Linked DNA regions of Homo sapiens: all the other regions are linked to region 1. Evidence: promoter capture Hi-C in 16 types of primary human blood cells and fetal thymus (Javierre and others, 2016). All regions are on one chromosome and are shown on one strand. Each heading gives the region's core, a stretch centred on a gene start or on the middle of the fragment in contact. The rest is flanking DNA. Distances are from core to core; before and after follow the strand shown. Region 1 holds the start of SAG (S-antigen visual arrestin). Region 2 overlaps GIGYF2 (GRB10 interacting GYF protein 2). Region 3 overlaps GIGYF2 (GRB10 interacting GYF protein 2).

Evidence for each region. Contacts are between HindIII fragments. The CHiCAGO score rates a contact against its expected background, and 5 or more counts as called.
Region 2: a fragment that was not itself captured here is called in contact with the fragment with the promoter of SAG in region 1 in 1 of 17 cell types (monocytes); the score reaches 5.3 in monocytes.
Region 3: a fragment that was not itself captured here is called in contact with the fragment with the promoter of SAG in region 1 in 2 of 17 cell types (monocytes and total B cells); the score reaches 5.8 in monocytes.

What each region holds. Positions count from the first base shown.
Region 1 is chr2:233,306,149-233,309,702 of GRCh38, reverse strand. SAG (S-antigen visual arrestin) reads right to left here and starts at 1,887. Exons shown (of 16, transcript NM_000541.5): 1 at 1,681-1,887; 2 at 439-541. The coding sequence starts at 513. The HindIII fragment of the contact is 2,146 bases long and covers 770-2,915 here.
Region 2 is chr2:232,727,023-232,730,576 of GRCh38, reverse strand. All of the region lies in intron 2 of GIGYF2 (GRB10 interacting GYF protein 2), which reads right to left. It also overlaps the pseudogene EEF1B2P7. Among named protein-coding and RNA genes, the nearest start is that of GIGYF2, 31 kb to the right of the region's middle. The HindIII fragment of the contact is 1,550 bases long and covers 1,090-2,639 here.
Region 3 is chr2:232,789,157-232,792,710 of GRCh38, reverse strand. GIGYF2 (GRB10 interacting GYF protein 2) reads right to left here. Exons shown (of 29, transcript NM_001103146.3): 10 at 1,796-2,013; 11 at 1,541-1,703; 12 at 1,265-1,453. Among named protein-coding and RNA genes, the nearest start is that of KCNJ13, 14 kb to the right of the region's middle. The HindIII fragment of the contact is 1,422 bases long and covers 824-2,245 here.

The DNA.
Region 1 (3,554 bases), core at 638-3,137:
AGACAAAAATAGACACAAAGCTTCCCTGGCCCTCACAGTGTTTGTTTGTTTTTTATTTGAGACAGAGTCTCCCTCTGCTACCCAGGCTAGAGTGCAGTGGCACCATCTGGGCTCACTGCAACCTGTACCTCCTGGGTTCAAGTGATTCTTGTGCCTCAGCCTCCCAAGTCTGGGATTACAGGTGCCTGCCACCATACCCAGCTAATTTTTGTATTTTTAGTAGAGATGGGTTTTGCCATGTTGGCCAGGCTGGTCTCGAACTCCTGGCCTCAAGTTATCCCGCCTCCGCCTCCCAAAGTGCTGGGATTACAGGCATGAGCCACCGCGCCCTGGCCCTCAAAGAGTTTTGATGTTGATCATGACTACACTGTACTTGAAAAAGCTCCATTTTTTTTAAACAATAATTTCTATCAAATCACTCACTTGTGCACCACTCACCGATTTGTCCCGGGAGATCTTCTTGAAGATAACATGGTTCGGTTCGGACTTGCTGGTCTTCCCGCTGGCTGCCATGTTATCTGTCCCTGGCAACTTCTACCACCTTGGGGTGTTGGTCAGGTGTTAGAGGGTTGGAGAAAGGTAAGACAATCCTAAATATCAAGTCAAGAACATCCTAGTTATGAAACCTACTCACGAGATCCTGTGCGTCCTCACCATGCCCTTGTACCGGCTTCAACATCCGAGTTTCATCGGTGAGTCTTTGCTTAGTTTGTATTTTACTGCAGCATGCTTTGGGGTGTTTTCAATATTTTATTTTTCTTGGTAAGCTTCAAACATTTCTCAGTACACCTTGCCAGGGAGTCTAGCTAGATTCCAATGAGGTTTTACTTTCTGACTAACCTTTGGTGTTATCACACTTAGCCAGGTTGAATTTAAAGTTCTATCGTGACTGTGTCTAATGGCGAATAAATCAGAAAAGTTCCTGAAAACCACAACATAACCACTTCGCAAAGACTGTTTTCAAGAAGATATTAATGGCCGGGCACTGTGGCTCACACCTGTCATCTCAACATTCTGGGAGGCTGAAGCGAGAGGATCATTTGAAACCAGGAGTTGGAGACTGGCCTGGGCAACATAGCAAGATCCTATCACTTTTTTTAAAAAAAAAGAATATATTAAAATCCCAAAAGTTCTATTTGGCAATTCCTACTAAGAGATAGCCACTCTGTTTTACAATTAAGAGGCCATCTTAGCGGTCTAGAATTAAGCATACTCTGAGGTTTTTTTTTTTTTTAAGATATAGGAGCTCGTTCTGTTGCCCAGGCTGGAGGGCAGTGCCACAATCATAGCTCACCGCAGCCTCGAACTCCTGGGCTCGTGATCCTCCTGCCTCAGCCAGCTGAGTAGCCAGGACTACAGGTGTGTGACACCATGCCTAGCTAATTTATTTTTATTTTTGTTTTTTTGTAGAGACTGGGTCTGACTGTATTGCTCAAGTTGGTCTCGAATTCCTGGCTTCAAGTGATCCTCCAGCCTCAGCCTCCTGAGTCACTGGGACTATAGGCATGAGCCATTGCACCCGCTCACTCCAAGTCTCCTTAAATAGCAACCAAGTCTTATGGAAACCACACAGAAAAGGTGAAGGCGGGACATACTGTCTGCAGGAAAACGCCCATCCTTGCTCTTCCCCACACCTGCCCCAGGTTTCTGATAAGGTTTTGGCCTGTGGTGGTCACATACCTTGTGATTTGTCACCAACCAGGTGGGAAGGGCCGGGTGGCAAGGAGAGGGTCTCTATGCTCTGAGATGATGAATAGCCAGCCCCTGTTCTGAGCAAGCTGGTACCGTCTTGCCAGATGAGCCTGAAGGGGCACCGCTGAGGCTCCTGGCCTACGTATGTGGGGAATTTGTAGGGGATCTAGCGAGGATGCCCAGCATCCAGGTCTCAATGTCTAAAAGCCAAATCCCACTTAAGGAGCAGAGTTGGATTAGTGCTGAGACAGTGAACTGGTAGTTTCAGCAGTTCTAAGCATTAAGCAACACCCCCCGCCCCGGTCTCCATACGGAGGGTCTCACAGATGTATGAGTCACCCAGCTGACTTGGGGAAGGTTGGTGGGAGGGCCAACAGCTAAATGAAAGCTACTTTTTCTTCTAAACCTCTTTGGATTCTGGAAATAGACTGATTATCTCTTCATTCCCGGGCATTGCCAGGACAGGAAGAGATTTGATTAAACTCAGCAGGCAGCTAATGCGACCTTGCGGGTGGGGACTAAACAAAAAGGTCAAGGAGAAATGTCAACCTCAAGATGAACCTGGTGTTATGCAAGCCAAGCTGGATCTGTCCCTCTCCTCCACCCGGTCCTACTGATTGATGGCTTCAGGAGTCCTGTTGATCCCCTCAGTGTCTCTGGAACCTGTCTGCATCCTCCCATCCCCAGCACCGCCTTTGCTTCTCAGGACCGGAGTGATTCCCCACTGTCTGACTACATCTATTTCTTTTCTTTTTTTTGTTTTGTTTTTTGTTTTGAGATGGAGTCTTGCTCTGTCTCCCAGGCTGAAGTGCAGTGGTGCAGTCTCAGCTTGCTGAAACTTCTGCCTCCCAGGCTGAAGTGCAGTGGTGCAGTCTCAGCTTGCTGAAACTTCTGCCTCCCAGGTTCAAGTGATTCTCTTGCCTCAGCCTCCAGAGTAGCTGGGACTACAGGCGCCTACCACCACACTGAGCTAATTTTGTATTTTTAGTAGAGACAGGGTTTTACTATGTTGGCCAGGCTGGTCTCGAACTCCTGACCTCAGGTGATCCACCTGCCTCGGCCTCCCAAAGTGCTGGGATTCCAGGAATGAGTCACCGCACCCAGCCGACCACATTTATTTCTACCCTCCAAGCCCTTTTCCACACAGAGGCAGAGAGACCTTCTGAGCCCTGTCATCCCTCGCTTACAATCACCCATTGCTCTTAGAATGCAGGCAAAAAGCTTGCAGCCTCTGGAACCTCTGCCTGCCTTTCCTTCCACGCCGTCTGCCACGCTTCCTCCTTCCCACTATTATTTCTGCCTGGAACAAGCCTCTCCTCTCTCCACTTTGTTGACTCTTCTTGGCCTTTCAGATTTTTGACCAGGAGTCACTTCCTCAGGGGAGCTATCCCCAACCTCCAGGACCAGATTGGAGGCACGCTTGCATTTCACTCTTTTTTTTTTTTGCTTTCGAGATAGAGTCTCACTCTGTTGCCTGGGCTGGAGTGCAGTGGCGCGATCTCGGCTCACTGCAGCCTCCACCTCCTGGGTGCAAGCGATTCTCCTGTCTCAGCCTCCCGAGTAGCTGGGATTACAGTTGTGCACCAGCATGCCCAGCTAATTTTTGTATTTTTAATAGAGATGGGGTTTCGTCATGTTGGCCAGGTTGGTGTCAAACTCCTGGCCTCCTGAAGTGCTGGGATTATAGGCATGAGCTACCGTGCCTGGCCACATTTCACTCTTGCTTGGGAATTATTCTACAGTCTCTCTTCCCTCACTGGAGTCCAGGCTCCATGAGGGCAGGGCCTAGGCCATTTTGTTTCCTTCACTTTTGTCTTCACAGTGCCCAGAACAATGCCTGCTCCCAAGAACACTCAGGGAAT
Region 2 (3,554 bases), core at 615-3,114, 580 kb after region 1:
CTGGAGTGCAGTGGCATGATCTTGGCTCACTGCAACCTTCGTCTCCCAGGTTCAAGTGATTGTCCTGCCTCAGCCTCCTGAGTGGCTGGGATTACATGCATGCACCACCACACCCAGCTAATTGTTGTATTTTCAGTAGAGACGGGGTTTCACCATGTTGGCCAGGCTGGTCTCGAACTCCCAACCTTAAATGATCCACCTGCCTCGGCCTCCCAAAGTGCTGGGACTACAGGCGTGAGCCACTGCACCCGGCCCCTAAAGTAAAGATTTCTGAAGAACTCTTAAAAACCTAAGAATATTTTTTTCCTCTTTCAGCACAGGGTGCCCACAACTTGAGCTCTTTCTGCTGCTCCTCAGCTCTCAGGTACAGCTGATGCCATGGATTTCAGAGACCTGAAAAGCCCTGCCGGCCTCCAGGTGCTCAACAATTACCTGGCGGACAAGAGCTACATCGAGGGGTATGTGCCATCACAAGCAGATGTGGCAGTATTTGAAGCAGCATCTGGCCCACCGCCTGCTGACTTGTGTTATGCCCTTCGTTGGTATAATCACATCAAGTCTTACGAAAAAGAAAAGGCCAGCCTTCCAGGAGTGAAGAAGGCTTTGGTCAAGTATGGTCCTGTGGATATGGAAGACACTATAGGAAGAGGAGCTAAAGATAGTAAAGATGATGATGACATTGATCTCTTTGGAGCTGATGGGAGGAGAAAAGTGAAGAAACGAAGAGGCTAAGGGAAGAACACCTTCCACAATATGAATCGAAGAAAGCCAAAAAACCTGCACTCGTTGCCAAGTCTTCCATCTTATAGATGTGAAACCTTGGGATGATAAGACAGATATGGCAAAATTAGAGGAGTGCATCAGAGGCATTCAAGCAGATGGCTTAGTCTGGGGCTCATCTAAACTAGTTCAAGTGGGATACAGAATTAAGAAACTTCAAATACGTTGTGAAGTTGAAGATGATAAAGTTGGAACAGATAAGCTGGAGAAGCAGATCACTGCTTTTGAAGACTATGTGCAGTCCATGGATGTGGCTGCTTTCAACAAAATCTAAAATCCATCCTGGGTCATGGCATTTAAATAAAAGCTTGAGAGGTTAATTAAAAAAAAAAACCTAAAAATAATAAACCAAGTTATTTAATTATCAAATAAAGAGACCTGCATTACTCAGAACAGTGTTCTGCTCATTCTTCTTTATGATTCAAAGCAGCTTAGGGCAACATTTAAACCCCAGCTATCCAAATGTTTTCAGCTCAAACGCCTAGAAGACTTGTAACCTTTAGAAAACAGCTCTGGAGGCCGGATGCAGTGCCTCACACCTGTAATCTCAGCACTTTGGGAAGCTGAGGCATGCAGATCACTTGAGCTCAGAAGTTCAAGAACAGTCTGGACAACATGACAAAAACCTCATCTCTACACAAAATACAAAAGTTAGTCACGCGTGGTGGTATGCTCCTGCAGTCCAAGCTACTTGGGAGGCTGAGGTGGGAGGACTGCTTGAGCCCAGGAGGTCGAGACTGCAGTGAGCCTTGTTCACACCACTGCCCTCCAGCCTGGGCAACAGAGCCAGACCCAGTAAGGAAAATGAAAAGAAAAAGAGAAGGGAAAGGGAAAAGGAAAGAGAAAAGGAAAAGGAAAAGGAAAAGGAAAGGTCTCTGAGTTTATAAAGCAATTCAGGATTTGAACCAGACTCTGGACACTCTGCTCCATCATGCTATCCTGCCTCTGTAGACTGTTTTTTGTTGAAACTATGACCTCCCTTTTCCTCCATTACCAGCACTATCCTGGTATTTCTTTGCCCATCTTTATTTCCCTCTAAATTACGGAATGGCAAAGAGGGCATGCAGAGAGTAGGGGTGTCATTTTAACAACAGCAATTAAAACATCTGCCCACAAATTTGTAACCGGCCACTAGCTGGGAGAGATGATCCCACCCCTGCAATTAATTACAAATTTGATTTTTTTCTCCCATGACCAATGTGGCATGGGATCACTGACTGATCATATCATCAAGGCACTACTGTTTTCAGTTTACTGGTCAGCCAGTCTCAAAAGCCTAGATCATCTGAAACTCTCTCTACTCCATCCCTTATATCCATTCATTTTGTCTCAAATTTAGCCTACTTCTTCAAGATTCCTCTTTCATTATAGTCCAAACTCTATTAATGCATGTCTGGATTATTCTAACAAAAGTTCTTATTTGCTTCCCTGACTGGGCCTCAAGATCAATTTTCCTAAGGCACCTTTCTGATCATGGCCTACACTCCTCTAAAAAAGTCCAATCGAACCTACTATGTATCGTCAATCTGACAACCCATGCCTCCCTCCCCAACTCAATCTCCTATTGTTTCACCTCCCAACTCAAAGCCAAATGAGAACTTTCTACCGTCCACTGCATTTTCCTTCCTCTTTAGTTGTGCTATGACATACCCTTCCCCCAGAAGCCTGACCTCCCTCCCTTAGAATGGCTCATACAAAACCAAGGATCTATTCAAACACCTACTCCATAAAATAGTTCCCAAAGTAGTAAAAGCACTGCTCCCTCTGGAAGGGAAAATCTAAAACACAGGATACAGAAATGGAATGGAATCTATAGGACTCAATGTTGCGGGTATTTTTCAAATGTGTATTATAAAGCTTAAAAGGAAGCAGAAAACAGAAAAACGAATTTGGGGAGACAGATAACGAGGATGGTTTTGAACAAAGTAAGTGCAAGGTGCTTGACTGAGGAAGTATCCAAAAGACCTAGAGTTGAAGAGTAGTCAGAATAGAAAGACAGATTTAACGGAAGTGAATCCACAGAGTTACAATCAAAAATTGAATAAGGCTACCCCAAAGCAGAAATCTCAAGAAAGAACAGGAACAAAGCCTCAGCAATCACTGTACAGGCTGATACAGGAAGAAAGAGAAAGACCACAGAGGTAGAGATCTCTAGCCCAAACCCTTCACTAAACTCAAATTCACTGACTCTAGTTTTCTCCCCCTGAGGTACTATTCTCACCACATTCTCTGTAACTAAAATAGACCCATATTAACCTCCAAGTTCATAATTACTCTTGCCTCCCCGCTATTCCCATTTCCTGAGGTAAACATGTTAACAGCCTAGTGTGTATCCCTCCATACTTCACATTCAGACAAACATGTTCACATATATGTGGTGGGGAAAGGGGATTAGCTATTTGCTATTATAAAGCAAGAATCATACACTATACCTTATTCTGAGACAGGCAATTCTCTCAATATATTTGCATGGACAAACTTCTAATAAACAGATATAGAGTTAAGTTGCAGTTTTTAAAAGCTGTATGATGGGCCGGGCACAGTGGCTCATGTTGTAATCCCAGAACTTTGGGAGGCCAAGGAAGGTGAATCAAGTTGAGGCCAGGAGTTCAAGACCAGCCTGGCCAATATAGTGAAACCCTGTCTCTACTAAAAATACAAAAAATTAGCTGGGTGTGGTGGTGCACGCCTATAATCCCAGTTACTCAGGAAGCTGAGGCATGAGAATCATTTGATCCCTGGAGGCAGAGGCTACAGTGAGCTGACATCGTGCC
Region 3 (3,554 bases), core at 285-2,784, 520 kb after region 1:
AGCACAGATTCAAATACTTGCTGAGCTAACCAGGAAGCTAAGGGCAGGAGGATCACTTGAGCCCAGGAGTTCGGATCCAGCCTGAACAACATAGTGAGGCCCTGTCTCATTTTTGTTGTTGTTTTGTTTTTAGAGACAGGGGTCTTGCTATTGCTATGTTGTCCACACTGTTCTCAAACTCCTGGGCTCAAGTGATCTCCCCCATTTCAGCTTCCCGAGTAGCTGGGATTACAAGCACGTGCCATCACACCCAGTTAATCCCATCTCTTTAAAAAAATAATCAGCTTTGTTCTAGACATTTAAAAAATTGAAAAATTCCTGGGTTTGAGCTCTCAAAATATTAGTCTACTGGGAAAACAAGGTAATAAACATCTTTATGATATTATAATGCTATGTTAGAAATAAGCCTGGTTGTTTAAGAAACGAAGAAGACACCTACCCTAGTTTGGGGGCTTTGGGTGGAAGAGAGTTTCAAGAACAGAGAAAAGGATGTGCTAAGGTACGAATCCTAGAAAACAGGAGACAGTTCAGGACCTAAAAGGCTTTGAGGCTGGTAAGTAGAACGTGAGGGAAGTAAAGAGGCTGGCAATGAAACTGCACAAAGGGAAGCAGATGCCAGATTGTGCAGTGTCTCATATGCCATGTTAAAGGGTATCAATTTTTATGGTAAATGAATCAAGTAACCCTTCAACGTCAGGCATTACAATGACATTTTTAAATACGTACAAGAAGAAACATGGAAATGAGCATTAATATTGCCTAATAAAGTGTATGAGCAACTTAAACCAATACACTAACAACTGAAAGAGATATGTTTTAAGCTTATTCTGCCACAGATTCACATATGTTCTCTACTTGTCCTCTTTTAGAAAAATGGCATTTTGGTGTGTCATCTGGTAATTTAAGCTGGGCACATAATTAGTCAACACATGAAAGGAAGGTAACTGTCTAATACGGGAATCAAACTAATGCAAAGGCTATGACACCCAGTTCACCAGTAATGACAGGGTGGCTATGTCATAACACCTTAGGACATGAGATTCCAGAGCTCCACCCTTGCAGATTCGAACTCTGTTTTGGTAATTCTGAGATGGACACATACGTGAGAAGCACTGTTTGACTGGGTTTACTGGTAAAATAATCTATTCCGATAATTCACCCACTAAAAGCAGTTCTAGGAGGCATAAGCAGAAGCCTAACTTATCAGTGATCACTGGCCTCAGCAGAATCCTATTTTAGCTTGTCTATTCCCACAAATACATACCATCCCCTCTGCTGGGCACTTTGGCTGGTAGACTATTTTCCATCCGAGTCTCCTCTTCAGCTTTTTCCGTTTGCTCAGTTTTTGGTTCATCTTTCCTCTCAAACTGTGATGCTTCCTGAGACTGATGGTCTGAAGGAGTACCTGGTCTAGCAGATGATGATGAGGTCTGGGGAGTTTCCTCACTAGCTTCTGGAACACGAAGTAATCTTAGTTGAACTTACGAAAGTTTTGGTTTGATGGAGGAAAAAAAAGGCAAAGGGCAAGAAGAGGCCTTACCAACTCCTACTCTATCTGTTTTCTCTCCTTCTTTCTTATTTGTCTTATCGGGTTCTTTGGCCTCTTCATTATGGCTACCCTCAGAGTCAGAGCACTCCTCCCCTTCGTCCACAGGCCGGAAGTCCATCTCCTGCTCTTCTGGAATAGGCTCTTTCTGTACTTTCTGTAGAAAGAGAATAAAACCAAAGATCAACAGCAGATTTGGCTTTGGTATAAGGTTAATGCTGGTCATGACATTTAAAACACGTTTCTTACTTTTAGAGAAAGGAATGCTCCAGATGAGTCAAATGTACCCATTTCTTCTTCAGCATCCTCTAAGCACCATTCGGGCAAGCTATCCCTGTCATCATCTATGCTCCCACTGCCAGAGCGAACCCTTCGGTAACCCCGTTCATCATCTCTATCTCGAAAATCAAACTCAAACCTCCGACGTCGTTCCATGTGTTCCCGCCAGCCTGCAGAACGAGGGCCATCTGAGATGAGAAGGAGGACACAAACCTTAGAAAAGTTTTATGACAGTATTTGAATAAGAAAATCAGGAATAGAAAATAAAGGAGAAAACTACAAGTGACCGCAAACTCAAATGGACTGACCTAGTAAAGAGAACATTAGGCAACTAAATGAAGTTCAGAGTTCAGAGTATATGTACCATTACGAGATGACAACAGTACTTAAGTACTGAGCCAGGCAACATACTCTAAAGCTTTAAAAGATAAATCTAAAATGCAGTACATTTAAAGGACACTGTATTCCAAGTACGCACTTTCAGTAAGTCCTAGGTACTTGATTAAAATACTGATTAGCCGCCAACTCCTCATCCAGACTTAATGCACTAGACATCCTTCCATACTGAAGTTTACACCTTCCTTTTGCCCAATCTTAAAGCATTTTCTTTCTTCCCATGAAAATATCATTGTTTGTGGATAAAATCAGCTCCCTGTGTTGACTTATATCAAACTCATCATGACTATTTATTAATGCCAGGTTCCCACTTGTAATTCTGATCCTCCCCCAAAAATTCACAAAATTACAGTGCTGAAAGTTGTCACAGAGATTTTATGAAGTTCACTATCCTAATTTTATAGTTTAAGAAGAAACTAAAACTTTGCCAGCAGAAGTAACTCGCACATGGCAAAGTAGAACTAAAATCCAATTCTGCACCCTCTGCTGCTTGTTCCACAATAACATACTTACTCCTCTCCCTTCTTTCTCATCTCTTAATTCTCCCTATCCATATAATACCCCTACGGACATTCCCAAATCTACATTTCCCAACAGAAGAAAAGATTGCCTAATAATAAGAGATCCTACTTAAGATATTTTTCTAAAAAAAAGAAAGGGAAACTCTTGCTAAAATCTGACAGACCTGAGTCTAAAAGAGTCTTAAAAAGAAAAGCAGGCTTTAACCTATTAGAATTTTCCATCCTTGACTGCTTTCTCTGTGGGGGATAAGAAAAAGAAATGTGGCCAGAGTTAAATGTTCTCACTATTGAGACAAACTTTGCAAAAACCAGCAATCTAAAAATCAAATTGGAAAACAAAGGGCAAAACGTTAAAATGCCAAATACAGGTAGCATCTGATAAGCCACTCACAAAAAAGAAATCTTAGTCCCACACTCCCATCCCTTCATATAAAAACAACAAAACACTATTTACTACTTCCTATGAGAACTAAGGAATTTTATACTCAGACTGCTTACGTGGAAACCTAGAGCCATTATGTGAAAAGAGTCTTCATGATCAAATGAATTCCAGAGCCCTCTGTACTGCTTTCATTTCTAACAGTCTAAATGTACATCATGACAGGAATCTATCCTTCTAGGTACCTGGCTCATGTTTCTCCTCTTACTGACTTTCCTAGGTTCAGCTCCCAGACTGGATGCCTCCCTGTCCTTAATGTTCCCACCCCCACGCACATCCAGCCGGAAGCCCTATTTTATATCCCATAATGTTATCTTATCAGTAGTTCATAAAATTTTACTCACGAAACTAAACATAGCAAGTAAGACATGCA